4 separate regions of the Homo sapiens genome follow, and all the other regions are linked to region 1. The links are contacts of gene promoters, found by promoter capture Hi-C in blood cells and fetal thymus (Javierre and others, 2016). All regions are on one chromosome and are shown on one strand. Each heading gives the region's core, a stretch centred on a gene start or on the middle of the fragment in contact. The rest is flanking DNA. Distances are from core to core; before and after follow the strand shown.

Region 1 (3,524 bases), core at 360-2,859:
TACAAACAATTGCTTTTTATCAAATAAGACATCAGTAAAAACACTTGGCAGAGTAGCCCTGCAAACATATTTCTTTCATTATTATCAATACTACTGAAAATAAATAATCAATAATAAGCTACAAGAACAAGATGCAGACAATGCAACAGGATACATATGCACCCTGTAACTAAGTACCACTGGAAGAAAAGGTTCACAACTCATGGAAATCTGTCAAGGCAAAATAACTGTCACCCTTTTTGAACCACCAGCCAACGAAAAAGCTAAAGATTAAAATCAACAATTTGCTACGCTAAATGAAGGGTCACTTAGAGAAGGTTGCCTGAGTCACTTACTGTGCATGTTGAGAGCCCAGAGTCTTCCGAAGCTACTCTGAGTCCACTTTCTAAACATGTTACTCTTGTTTCAGGAACATTCAGAACAACTTGGGTAGCAGCCTGTGTACTTCTTAATCTGTTCTCTCCAAAATATAATGACTGGTTGGGGGTAGGAAGTGGAAGAGACAAAGCAAAACACATTACTAATCTGATATTAAATGTTGCTTTTAAAACCAAATCTATTTTAAATAGGCTGTCTCTATAAAAGAATCTTTCTTCTTGAATTTTGGTTCCACTGAGATCTCTGCCTGGCCTAGAAACATCTGTCACCAGCCACTGTCCTAAAGCCAGCAACGTGTTTATAAACATGCCCTTCCCTCAGGGAAGATGAGCAATTATTATCATTACCCAGAGAGAAATTGACTTTATTTCACTACCTCTCCTAGAAATGTTTTATATTCATTATGGAGAAAACAAGCAGGAAAAAAAAAAAGAGAGGGAAACTATGTAAAACTACCTACACACAAGACAAAACTGACACTCGGGTTTTCATTGTTCAAGAAAAGCAACAGGGTTTGGAAATGGTTAAAAAAAAAAAGAGAGAGAGGATAGGAAGATGGGTCGATGTTCAAAATGCAAATGACTGGCTTTTCGGCCAGAAACTATTCGCCTTTCAGCAGTTTTTCTTTGCCCTTATACAAAAGTCTCACATCCCTTTGCTTAAAGTCAGAGGCTCTCTCATGAGAAAAATGCAAATACATAAAAAATTTTACTTCATTGATGTCCAGGTTCGCGGGAAGCCCAGCTGAGGACGAAGTTCAGTCTTAGGCAAAAATAGAACTCTGGAGCGGTACCCATTTCACTTTTTAGTTTTCCCCAATTTGCAAGCACTACGTTTTTAGTGGTCAAACATGCACTCCTCAGTAGCTGGCGGGAGGAGCCGAAAACCAGGGTCATCCCACACGTCACTAGCAGGTCTCCTGGCGGGTGGCCACAAGCCAGTCACCCCCGGCCAGTTCAGCAGCCCCAGGCCGCCTGGCGCCCGGCGGGTCCGGGTCGAGGAGGCCCTGCCCGACCCACTGTTCGGATCTGTGGCGCCGACTCTCAGGTGCGCTGCGCCGGGTCTGGCGAGATCTCGAGGACAGGACCGGCCTGGAGGGAAGCTCACCCGTCCCGCAGCGCCTCGGATTAGAAGACTCTCGCTGAAACCCCAGAGCCGCCGCCGCGCCGCGGATGACAACACCACTCGAGCCGCCGCAGCCGCCATTTCTGCTAGAAGGAAGGTAGAGGATGAAGGATGTGCTTCCGGGGTCGCGACCTGAGGTCCCAGAGCAGGGAGGTGGGCTCCACCTTGTGGCCGTGATGGGAATGACACTCCTCGAAGCGGTTGTGAAAGCAATCAGGGCCCGACCATGATGCTGAGCGGTCTTTACCAAATGAATTGGGGAGTCTGCAGAAGCCCCTTTATCATCAGTTATTTTATCGATCGCCTACTAAGTGCAAGGCACAAATGCGGTGGAATGAAAGGTAACCTGATGCAATATATCTCACTGGTGGATGGAATTGATTGAAAACAGTGGAATAATATTCATAAGTCACTGCCTTTAAAGGAAAAGTCTAGTGGGAGAGACAGATGCCGTGAGGGGAGGAAACGATGTATCCGTGTTGACCACTATCCACTCTTCGAACCTCTACAATATGGCTCATCTCATTCCATAGAAATTGCCCTTGGTAAGGTCACTAATTGCTAAAAGTTGGACACTTTACAGACTTATGTTACAGTCCTGTTGGAGGATTTGACATTGTTGGCTTCTTTGAAATTCTCTTTTCTCAATATATTCTAGAGCTCCACCTCCTCATAGTTCCCTCTGCACCTTCTTGGACTCCTCTTTATTCACAGATCTGTTTTTTGTTTTTGTTTTTGTTTTTGAGATGGAGTTTCACTCTTGTTGCCCAGGCTGGAGTGCAGTGGTGCAATCTCAGCTCACTGCAACCTCTGCCTCCTGGGTTCAAGCAATTCTCCTGCCTCAGCCTCCCAGGTAGCTGGGATTACAGGCATGTGCCACCACGCCTGGCTACTTTGTATTTTTAGTAGAGATGGGGTTTCACCATATTGGTCAGGCTGGTTTTGAACTCCTAACCTCAGGTAATCCACCCACCTCCACCTCCCAAAGTGCTAGGATTACAGGCGTGAGCCACTGCGCCCAGCCCACAGATCTCTCAAGGAACTAAAAATTGCAAATGCTTTTCTAACTCAGGTAGATGGTATAGTGCTTATTTTGCAATTAAGACACTGAAGTCAAATAACTTGCCCCAGGTTACCCTGCTAGTAATAGGTTAACGCCAAAGACTGTGCTGTGAAACACTACATTTTGCCCTAAAAGTTGGTGTTTGCCAGGACTCTAAGCCTCTTCTACTGAACATTCTCCCTCTGGGTTTTTCCCTCCACTTCAAGACCTGTCTGCCCAACCCAGGCCTTTCTCTTGAGCTCCAGCCCACTTAACCATCAACTACTAGGAAACTACACTTGAATACCCCATTGGAAACTCAATATCAACTTGTCCAAAAGGGAATTCACTGTGTCCCCTGAATCTCTTCCCATATTTGCAATGCCAAACAGCCAATCATACCTACATTTGCCCAAAACTCCAAACCACCCAGAAGCTCCTCTCTTTTTCCATCTTCCACATTCAATTGATACACCCCTTTCCTGCCTCTTCAATCTACTCCAGGCCCATTGTCAGTTTTTTCACATTACTACCTATAGGATCTTTTACAAATGAAACTGTTACGGCAGTCCCATTATGAAGAATCCATCAGGGAGCCCTTGGTCACAATAAAGTAAAGGGTCCTTAGCATGGCAGGTGGGGCCCTTCATGATCTGACTCCCATTTATCTTTCCAGACTCATCTCCCTCCACCTACCCGGCTGCTATGCTTCGCAGGTTCAGTCCACAAGACTCATGATGTAATGTAATAAAGGACGACCAAGGTTATTCTCTCATGTTTCTAAAACAAATGTGTGTTAACCAAAAATAAATACAAACATGCATACATATATACAAAAACATGTAGGTATAATCACAGGAAGCACCTAGGAAGTTTTAGCAAGAATTTGTATTCAATTCTAATATACTTCATGGTATTAATTTATTAGTCATTATTTACAGTCAATATCTTAGAACATAAAGCCTACAGAAATTAAGTG
Region 2 (3,524 bases), core at 307-2,806, 890 kb before region 1:
CTGTATTAGTCCATTCTCACACTGCTATAAACATACCTGAGACTGGGTAATTTATAAATTTATAAAGAAAAGGTTTAATAGACTCACAGTCTGTGGGCTGTACAGGCTTCTGCTTCTGGGGAGGCCTCAGGAAACTTGGAATCATGGTGGAAGGTGAAGGGGAAGCAAACACATCTTCACATGGCCAGCAGGAGAGAGAGCATGAAGGGGGAAGTGCTGCACACTTTGAAACAACCAGATCTCATGAGAACTCTATCACAAGAACAGCTAGGGGGAAGTCTGCCTCATGATTCAATCACCTCCCACGAGGCCCCTCCTCCACTGAAAATTTCAAATGAGATATGGGTGGGGACACAGAGCCAAACCATATCACCCATCAAGAAACACCTCATTAGTATAAATTGAGGTATGTTTTAAAAGGACTTATTATGAGTAACAAAAGATACTCCTCTTATCCTTCTCATTCAGGGAATTATGAGGGTTTTTAGAAGCTCTGTGCCAGGAACTGCAGTGAAGATCAAATATATATTTTTTATTATATCACAAATCACACTTTTGTATTCTAATCTTGTAATAGTTTTATTATTCCTTAATTGTTGCTGGGTCTGGGTGTTTTTTTTTTAATACCTTTGTTATAAAATGCTTGAAGATATGATTAGTGTACTATGTTAATCATTATAAGTTATTTTGTGTCCTGTGAACAGGCAACCTTCAAAAGATCCTGTCCCATGATCATCCTCCAGAGTATTCAGCTGATTTCTATGCTGCCTACATTAACATTCTTCTTGGAGTTTTCTACACTGTTTGTCGAGATTTGAAAGAGCTCAGACATCTGGTAAATGAACATTTTGCTTGAATATATATATATGTGTGTGTGTGTGTGTGTGTGTATACATATATGTGTATATATGTATTTTAATGTTTTCCATGTAGAAATGGTATGAGATAGGTTAGAAACTGAAATTTTATTCTGGGAATTTGCATATGGCCTCTAGAGACTAACATACCATAAGAAGGTAGATGTCTGTGGGTTAGTACAAACTTTGATTGTTTGATCTGATCAGAAAAATGTCATTCTCAGATCTTCTTACTCTTCCTTGTTTTTTCTCTAATTGCAGAAAATGCAGAACTCCATAAAAATCAAAATGAGGAATAACAGAAAAGAGATGTAAAAACTTGAGCAGTTTTACAACTCTGTTAATATTTTGTAACAGATTTTGTTCAAGTTTTATGTATGCGGTGATTGAGGTCTAGAATCTAGATGGATTTGAGTATGGTCAGAAGCTTTCATTGCAGGTCTTTCATTAACCACTGACCCTGAGCTGGTAATCTTTGTATAGATGGTTCTTTTTAATTTTTTTTTTTTAACAATTAGAATAGCTGTTTATATTTCATAGACAGTTTGGAAAATGTTGATGTTTAATTTTTCTTTGACCTTTTTTGTTTTAATTGTAGGGATGGGAAAGGAAAGAGACAAGAATTTCTGTTTTCCCTTTTAGAAATCTTCAATTAATTAAGATCTTATCTCCATTTAACAGAAAATAGTAATATATCTGAGGCTGGAAAACAGTCACTTTCAAAGTAACAGATTCTATGTCTCTTAGCACATTTTCTTCACTTTGTTCTTTTTCTGTTTTTGCCCTGAAAAGTATTACTTAGTTTCAGTGTGTGTTTGCGACAGAACACAGAAGGCAATCATTTAAAATTATGCTCACATTTAGTATGTTTTTGAAAGTTTCAGATTTCAGGGCTCCTCTGATTTACATGTAGATTTCAGACATCTTCTCAGCTGGGAAAAAACAAAACAGTTTTTCCAGTTCAAGCTTATCACTAACATTCCTCTAGAAGTTGGATGTCTTGGGATCCCTGGCTTCTGAGGGAAATGATAACACAAGAGACTTACAGAGAGGAGAGGGTCAGGAAAACGCACCTGAGTGAGATGGACTTAGGAGCAGATAATCCTCCTCGGTCTTTCCTGGAAAGTAACTTGCAGTTACCACTCTTTAGCACTCGAATCCTGTGGGAATCTGTGCTGACAGCCATTTCAAAGTAGATTATAAAGTACAAGAAGGAAAAATTTAGGGAAAATATTTATGGGAAAATAAAATGTAAAGAGAGAAATATATATTTAAATGTGGTATTTTTTAAAGTTCTTCGAGTTTCACTGTGGAATGATTTTATTTAGGGTGAGGTTACAGCTTTTTAAAAAATAATATTCATAAATGTGTAGTATGGTTTAAGTCTTATACTACTATTGGTAATAATAGAGAAAAGGATCCTTAAACATTAGAGAAAAATAGCACAATGTTCTTAGTTTTCTCTATATATAGAACATGGAAGAATAAAGATATTCATTTTCTTTTTTTTCTTCAGATAGTGTTGTTTGTGTTTGTTTCAAAGTTTGTAAGTGGCATATTTCTTGAAAGTTTATTAAATCACCTGAAAAATATTCTTTTCAGGGATCTTTTCTGGAAAGATGCTTTATGAATTGATATTTCTGTATTTTTCAGAGGCTAGTTCTATAGGTAGCTTAAGATAGGAGAAAATGAAGTACTACTTTGATATTCATTTAGGTTTGTTTTCTCTAACAAACCTTATGATACTGCCTTTTTAACTGTTATTCATAAATTATTAAACATATTTTAGTGTTTCAACCAAAGAGAAAATCAATACAGTTGCCCCTTGGTATACTTGGGGGATTGGTTCCAGGACCAGTCCCATATATATCAAAATCCTAGCACACTCAAACCCTGCGATCAACTCCGCAGAACCTGAGTGTAAAAAAGTTAGCCCTCCATATACATGGGTTTTGTATTCCCTGAGTACTGTTTTTGATCTGTGTTTGTGATCTGTGTTTGGTTGGAAAAAAAAAAAAATCTGTAGACAAGTGGACCCTCACAGTTCAAACCTATGTCGTTCAAGGGTCAGTTGTTTATTTTGATTAGCCAAATTGTGTACCAGTTGCTGTTAACATTATGACACTTTAGTGTTATTACACCATGCTTAGATCTGAAAATCTAAAATTAAGGTAAGAAAGTTTGGCTAAAGCGAATAATTTCTTTTTGATTCTTCTTCTCTACACTTAGTAGAATTTGGAAGATTTTTCTATTTTAAATCATTGTTTTTTATGAAGTAGAATAGGAAGAAATTATTTTAATGATTTGGTTCTTAGTTTTCTGTTATCTAGTTATATGTTATATAGTTACACATTTATATATATCTTTTTCTGTGCCTTATTGAATTATTTTGATATGAAATACTTGGGAACAAACTAATATATATATATTTTTTTTAAATAAATGGAATTAGTATGTTTTTAACCAGTTTGCTTAAACTGCTGTTCAGTAGAATTCCAGTGTTGATTCATGGAAAACTACTAAGTAGTTATAATTAGTTAATTAGTACTCCTCAAACTTTAGAATACATAGAGTTTCTAGAGAGATCGTTAAACATAGATTCCTGGGTCTCATCCTCAGAGATTCTGATTTGGTATGCCTGAGATGGTGCCAAGAACTTGCATTTAT
Region 3 (3,524 bases), core at 486-2,985, 870 kb before region 1:
CCGTATGTGAACTTAGCAAGTCCTAAAACCTCTAGGCTTTGGCTTTCTCCTCTAACAGTCCTTAGAAGATTTAGATAATGTATCTGAAAATTATTGTAAATATTGAAGTGTCTTATAGATATTAGATTAAGCCTAGATTACAAATCAATATAGGAAACCTAAAAATATCAACACTGTCTGCTTTTCTTTCTAGTCAATTTTTTTTACCATTTTTCTCTCATGAATGCCTTATTCTATCACTAACTATTCCTTAATAATTTTGTTTGATTTCAGTTTAATTAACTGATTAGCCTATAATTCAGGTAAAAATTTGGTAGTTTCTTAATTAGCAGAAATACTACAAAGATACTATTACTCCTTTTCCTTTTTCAGTAACAAAAATTCATTTAATGAGAGTTTTTAGAAATCATAGAATGGAAAAGCTTGTGATCTTCTAAATGTAGGAAAACTTGTTTGCTTGTTAAAATGATTCTTACATAATAATGAAAGGACTTCTAGTCCCATAGGATAATTATGGCCACCTAAATTCAATTGTGTCCACAATATCAATAAAGAGAGCTAATAGAACCACCCATAACTCTTGCCTGCTGTATTAACAGGAGTTAGAGATTGCTACAAGCTTCATTTTATATACCAGTAGTGAAGTAAACAACTGAAACCAACAGGGCCAGCTCTGGAGCTCATGCTGAGGTGAAAAGTCAAACAAAGACTGAAAGGAAAAGAGAAGATTGTTGGGACAAGGGATACGTTGACTAGTAGTGGTGAAATACAAATGAAATTACTTGAAGAAAGAGAGTTCAACCCTGAGTGAGAAAGTATTGAACAGTTCTGAGGCTGGAAGGATTAGAGCACTGGCTACTGGAGAATCAAAGTGACATTTTGTTTTTTGTTTTTTTGTTTTTTTGAGACAGGGTCCCATTGTCTCGTCCAGGCTGGAGTGCAGTGGCAAGATCACAGCTCATAGCAGCCTCAACCTCCCTAGGTCCAGGTGATCCTACCACCTGAGCCTCCCGAGTAGCTGGGACTATAGGCATGCGCCACCACACCTGTCTAATTTTTTGTATTTTTTTTGTTTTAAGAGTATGGGGGCCAGAGTTAGCATGATAGTCTTGGGAAAGTACTGTTTTGAGGAGAGACAAGTAGTTGATTCAGAAGGGTGTGGTATTCCTTTGAGAGTTGGTAATGAAGGAAAAGAATGGAAAGAAAGGATAGAAATTAAAGATTCCTCTCATCCCCCAAATAAAAAAGAAATGACAAAATCAGAAGCTAATCCCTCCTTTTCATAATAGCACCATATATTAAAGAAACTTGACTTCATTATTTTTCCAGAAGGGAGCACTTTAGAATTAAGTAATTGTGCCATTCCGCAACCTTACCCCTGCATTCATAAAGTCACCTGTTATTACTGACCAAGCCAAACATTAGGTATTTCAAAATGAATAAAAGACAACATGGAAAAGCCATGTAAAGGTATTATTTAGGAAGAAACAGAAAATGTGAATAAAACAGTTTAGTTGATGAACATTTCCCCCTTAACACCCAAAACAAAGCAGAGGAAGACTGCAATACCACACCTTTACTTGGTTTAGGTTTGTTTAAAAAGCATTTTCAGGTATGGAAAGCATTCTTTAAGTTTGAAATTCAATAACTTAGAATAAATGGACAAAGAACAGGGGGATGTGAAATAAAAGTTGATCAAACTCAGGAGCAAAGTTCAGGCAATAGTAGTTATCTCAGAAATGAAAATGAAAAAATAAGATATCCAAAGGAAAGTAGATTCAACTGAGAATATAGTAAGAGACATTGAGGAAAGGACTGAAAATAATCAAGAGAACAAAACTAAAAAAAGAGGTAAAAATAATCAGGTAGGATGTGACAAATATGATAGACAAAGAAGATTTAACATATATTTAATTGGAGCTCCTGAAGACAGAAAAGAACAATGGATTGGAGTTAAGATCTAAAATTATAATCCAAGAAAACGTTCCAGAAATAGAAGACCTAGCTTTACACATTAAAACAGTTCATTTTCCCAATTAATCCAGAATGATCAATTCTGAAACTGTACTAGTATATTGTACTGTAACAAATTATCAGAAATTTAGTGATTTAGGACAACACATAGTTACTGTCTTACAGTTTTGTATGTCAGAAGTCTAAAACAGGTCCACAGGGCTTTTCTTCTGGAGGTTCTCAAGGAGAATCTATTTCTTTGCCTTTTCTAACTTCTAGAGGCTGCCTTCATTCCCTGGCTTGTGGTTCCATTCTCCATCTTCTAAGCTAGCAGTGTAGCATTTTCTCTTCTCTCTGACTTGTCTTCCTCTTAGAAGGATCCTTCTGACTCTATTGGGCCTATCTGGATAATGCAGTGTAATGTCTATCTGAAGATCCTTAACTCAGTCACATCTGCTAAGTCCCTTTTACCCCATAAGAATGTATTCACATGTTCTAGGGATTTGGACTTTGGTATCTTTGGAGGCAGAGCCATTATTCAGCCTACTACAGAGACTTCTTGGAAAGCATTTAGACTTTAAAAATAACAGAAAAAAACCTCTGAGCTTTCAGGCAAAAAATAAAAGTCACTTACAAAGGAAAGTCAGTGAAAAAGTGAAACAAATGGATCAACAATTTCAAGAAACTCAAGGAGAAAGGAAGTGTAAGCCAAATAATTTTATGTTCAGTCAAACCTGTCATTGAACTATCAAGGCTAGAGAAAAACAATATTAAACATGGAAGAACTCAGAGAACACTACTCATAAGACATTTCTTAGGACGACCTTGATGTGAAAAAGAGATGACTGGAGAAACTAACAAAAGGATTGATGATGAACATTGAATTTAATTAAGCTTAGCTCCAAACTAAAATTAAGGTGGAAATAAGAGTAGAAGAATAGTATGTAAATATTATGTATTCTGACAAGGTAGGAATATTACAACTTAAAAATTGGGAAAAGAAGGAAAAGAGAAAGGGGAAAATTAAACTTGTTGATTGCTATACAGGTGAGAGATGGGCATCAAAGAATACTTCAAAAGCTAAAACTACTTTTTTTAAAGTATACTCAAAGAAGGCCCACACTCATCCTTATCACTTCCACCCTGTTCTTCATGCAGATTTTGGATATTTAATTGTTCTAATCTGGCATTATTTTTAAATTAGCCCTGTAAATTAGCTCATTTTTAAGAGTTCTGTGAGAGTTTTAGAGTTGGTGAGCACCTTTGCATCAAACTGCCTTATTTTTTTTTATGAGTAAACTATTCATTTTTTCGAAGTCATGCAGCTAAAACTGTCGTAGGGCATTCTTTACTCATTATACTATAGTGTGTTGCCTTATAAATTCAATTTGTCGTGTCATAATCACTTCATATTCTTAATAGTGTTTTGGTTGTTTAACAGTTTTAATTGCAAATAAGTCCAGGATGGGGCAATTAAAATACCTTGAACTCTGCAAGCATCCTACAAGGATTCGACTCGTAGCTCTAGTATTGACTGGCTAAATGTCCTTGGGTGACTTAATCTTTGAGCC
Region 4 (3,524 bases), core at 404-2,903, 850 kb before region 1:
CAGAAGGGGAGTTATAATTTTCCCACAATTTTTATATTTACCTACATAATTAAGATGACTTTACCTGGAAATGATTCTAGTGTTTCAGAAAAAGACCTTTTCATTACCCTTTCTTTTAATGTATTTTAATATTTTATGAGTTGTAGTTGTGAATGTTTCTGTAAATGACCTTTAATCCACAAATGTGTAAGAAACTGCTTTGGGATACCATCTTCAATATCATCTAATAATTTCTGGATTTAAGAAATCATGCTTTCCCCCAACCTTAAATTTACTTTTTTTTTTTTTTTTTGAGACGGAGTCTTACTCTGTCGCCCAGGTGGGAGTGCAGTGGCACAGTCTCTGCTCACTGCAACCTCTGCCTCCCAGATTCAAGCGATTCTCCTGCCTCAGCCTCCCAAATAGCTGGGGCTACAGGCATGCGCCACCACACCCAGCTAATTTTTGTATCTTTAATAGACCTGGGGTTTCACCATGTTGGCCAGGCTGGTCTTGAACTCCTGACCTCAAGTGATCTGCCTGCCTCGGCCTCCCCAAGTGCGGGGGTTACAGGTGTGAGCCAACATTGGCCAATATTTACCTTTTAAAAATTAAACCTTAAAAACAGCAATTTAATGTCTAATGTAATATATAATCTGACTTATGAAAAATTAACCTGTCATTAGGTTAAATCAATTCCACATTAATGTTTTACTTTTGTGACATCAAACTCATACATCTAACAATTCTGTTCACAGTATTGTTAATTGTTACTTCTCAAGGTTATTCTATATCCCTGTGGCAGGACATTTGCCTGTACTGTATTGAGATACTTCTTTGTCCTTATTGCTACAATTTCATTTAAGGCTTTTTCTCTGTTTTACTTGCATTGCCTGCTCTCCTGGGTTTCTTACTTTTCCAGCATACTAATAGTTATTGCCTTCACTGTAGAATGCAAGGTGGAGTAGTCATTTCCTTCTTCCATAAAGCTTTCCTAATCTCGCCCAACAAAATTATCTCTTTGTATTCTATAGCTCCTTGTTTGGGGTAGTATAAGGAATATGGGCTTTGGATTCAGATAGTATTCAAAGCCAGTGCTGTTCTTAACCACTGTTAACTTCGTGACCTTGAGCAATTTACTCACCTCTCTGAGGTGGTGTCATCGTCTGGAAAAGAGAGATTTATTTATAGTAATCATGGGAGGGTTTTTGTGAGAATTGAGGATGCACAATGTCTGTCACAGAGCCTGGACACAGTAATAAATTCCAGTCCATATGCCACTAATTACCATGGTCATTAATAGTATTAATTAGTTCCTATAGCTATCTTTCCCTGACCCCTGCCCCTCAAGTTTTGTCCATATCCTCTGCTAGAACCTGAGGGAAGGAGTAAATGCCAAAACACATATGTGTCATTCTCAGGAATTTTGAAAGACAGCAGAAAAAAAGATAAAAGCACATAGGCTCATACTGGTGTTCTTTATTCACAGTAGCAGTAGTCTTGGCAAACCATTTTCTAATCATCAACACCCAATGTGAAGTATTATTTTGGCTAAATGTTTTTAATATGTTCAGTATTCTTAAAACAAGTGTTTAATTTAAAATTTGTTGTTACAACTCTGAAATGTTTTCTAGCAAACCTTTAGCACGACATATGTGTTGTATTATTTTTCATTGGGACTTTTGGATTAAATATTTGGAAACGTTCATTTGTGTGGGTGACTGACTAGGGACTGATAATGCCAATTGTCCTTTTATGATGTCTCTTTCATCATCTATTAAGTGAAGTATTGATCTCCAAAGTTTCAAGTCCTGATGGGCAAGCTCAGAATTTTACTGTGCAATTATTTTTATGTTGAAAAATTTATTTTTAATAAATTTGAAGTGCAGTTGGCTTTTATAGCCCCAAAACAAACAAATAAAAACAGAACTTTTATCATTCAAAAATATATAAAGTAAGAATTTGGAAAAATAGAACACTCCGGTTGGGATTTATATAGCAATACTTTTGCTATAATCTTCCTTTGCTGTAGAGGAAGTAATAAGTTTTACTAGTCACAGGTTTGTGGCAAATTTGTAAGGACCTTTATGGACTCACAGCATGAAACCAGTAGCTACAAATCCTCCTTGAGTCTGAGCCCCAAGTCATAACTAATCATCTGCCTTTAAGTAGGAGAGATTTAAAAATCTTTACAAATAAGGGTTAAAAAGTGTTTTTATTTTTACAAGTAGATTTTTTTAGCTTCATAGCTACTTAAAACATTTTGAGATAACATTTATTCTGACAGTTTACAAGGTATTTCTCAAAGCCCTCTATATTTTGAGTACGTTATCAGTGTTTTATTTTTTAATTAAGCTTTTTTGAGGTAATTATAGATTCACACACAGTTGTAAAACATAATGTGTATTCTCTCTTCCTGTGTGTCCTTTACTGGTTCCCCACAGTGGTATAACATCTGGCAAAGCTATAGTAAAATATCACAACCAGGAAACTGACATTAATGCAATCTACTGATCTCATTCAGATTTCCCTACTTCTATTTGTATTCTTTTGTGTATGTCTATATATATTTGGTTATATGAAATTTTATCCTGTGCATAGTTTTGTTAATTCACCACCACAGTCAAGACCGGTTCCATTATCACAAGGATTCTCCGTGATACTCACTGATGACCATACCTTCCTCTCTTCCTCCCCTTCCCCAATTCCTGTTAACTGGTAATTGCTACCTCTAGAATTTTGTCATTTCAAGAATTTGTTTAAGCATAATCATATAGTATATAACACTTGGGAATTAACTTCTTTGAGTCAGGATAATTCCTCAGATTCATCCAAATTTTTGCATGTATTAATAGTTCATTCATTTTAATTACTGAGGAGTATTCTGTGGTATACATATACCACAGTTTGTTTAACCATTCACCTGTTGAAGGACATCTGGGTTCTTTCCCGTTTTTTGGCTACTACAATTAAAGCTGTTAGGAACATTCATGTACTAGTTTTTATGTGAACATGCAGTTCTCTGGAATAAATGCATAAGTGCAATTGCAGGGTAATACGGTAATTGCCTGCTTAGTTTTATAAGGCGTATATGTTTTACCACTTCAAGTGAAGTGTGGAAACCATACTGCCATTCCTTTTACTTTCTCACTTTTTCAGATACTGTCTTGAGTATCAGAAGGTGTTAAAATGTTTAATCAAATGTGATTTAGAAAACTCATGAGGATATATTCTCTTGTATTTATCCACAAATCTCCTCTTTCCACTGTTCGTTCTTTCACTTTTATTATTTCCTTTTGTTTGAAGAACTTCCTTTTGCTCTTCTTTGAAGGTCATCTGCTAGTGACAGATTCTTCCGTTTTACCTTGTTCGAGCATGTCTTTATTTCCACTTTATTCATGAAGGATAGTTTTGCTAGATATAGAATTGCCAGATCTTTCGTCAGGATTCTTCTTTAATCCAGGGGAGGAATGAGCCTACCTGGGTAGCCTTTTGCCGCTCAGTTGTGGATTGGAAAGTGCTGGGCTTGGTTCACCTTTCGCTCT

What was found. Contacts are between HindIII fragments. The CHiCAGO score rates a contact against its expected background, and 5 or more counts as called.
Region 2: a fragment that was not itself captured here is called in contact with the fragment with the promoter of PMPCB in region 1 in 12 of 17 cell types (naive CD8 T cells, M2 macrophages, total CD4 T cells and 9 more); the score reaches 12.8 in naive CD8 T cells.
Region 3: a fragment that was not itself captured here is called in contact with the fragment with the promoter of PMPCB in region 1 in 12 of 17 cell types (non-activated CD4 T cells, activated CD4 T cells, naive CD8 T cells and 9 more); the score reaches 15.7 in non-activated CD4 T cells.
Region 4: a contact is called between a fragment that was not itself captured here and the fragment with the promoter of PMPCB in region 1, in 6 of 17 cell types (total CD4 T cells, naive CD8 T cells, non-activated CD4 T cells and 3 more). The highest score is 8.7, in total CD4 T cells.

Annotation. Positions count from the first base shown.
Region 1 is chr7:103,295,520-103,299,043 of GRCh38, reverse strand. It overlaps PMPCB (peptidase, mitochondrial processing subunit beta), which reads right to left and starts at 1,609. Exons shown (of 13, transcript NM_004279.3): 1 at 1,486-1,609; 2 at 336-476. The coding sequence starts at 1,584. RefSeq lists enhancers at 1,355-1,654, 1,755-1,814. The HindIII fragment of the contact is 11,349 bases long and covers 1-3,524 here.
Region 2 is chr7:104,185,562-104,189,085 of GRCh38, reverse strand. ORC5 (origin recognition complex subunit 5) reads left to right here. Exons shown (of 14, transcript NM_002553.4): 6 at 705-835. Among named protein-coding and RNA genes, the nearest start is that of ORC5, 21 kb to the left of the region's middle. The HindIII fragment of the contact is 539 bases long and covers 1,287-1,825 here.
Region 3 is chr7:104,169,235-104,172,758 of GRCh38, reverse strand. All of the region lies in intron 8 of ORC5 (origin recognition complex subunit 5), which reads left to right. Among named protein-coding and RNA genes, the nearest start is that of ORC5, 37 kb to the left of the region's middle. The HindIII fragment of the contact is 2,228 bases long and covers 622-2,849 here.
Region 4 is chr7:104,145,802-104,149,325 of GRCh38, reverse strand. The region is part of intron 12 of ORC5 (origin recognition complex subunit 5); the gene reads left to right. Among named protein-coding and RNA genes, the nearest start is that of ORC5, 60 kb to the left of the region's middle. The HindIII fragment of the contact is 1,366 bases long and covers 971-2,336 here.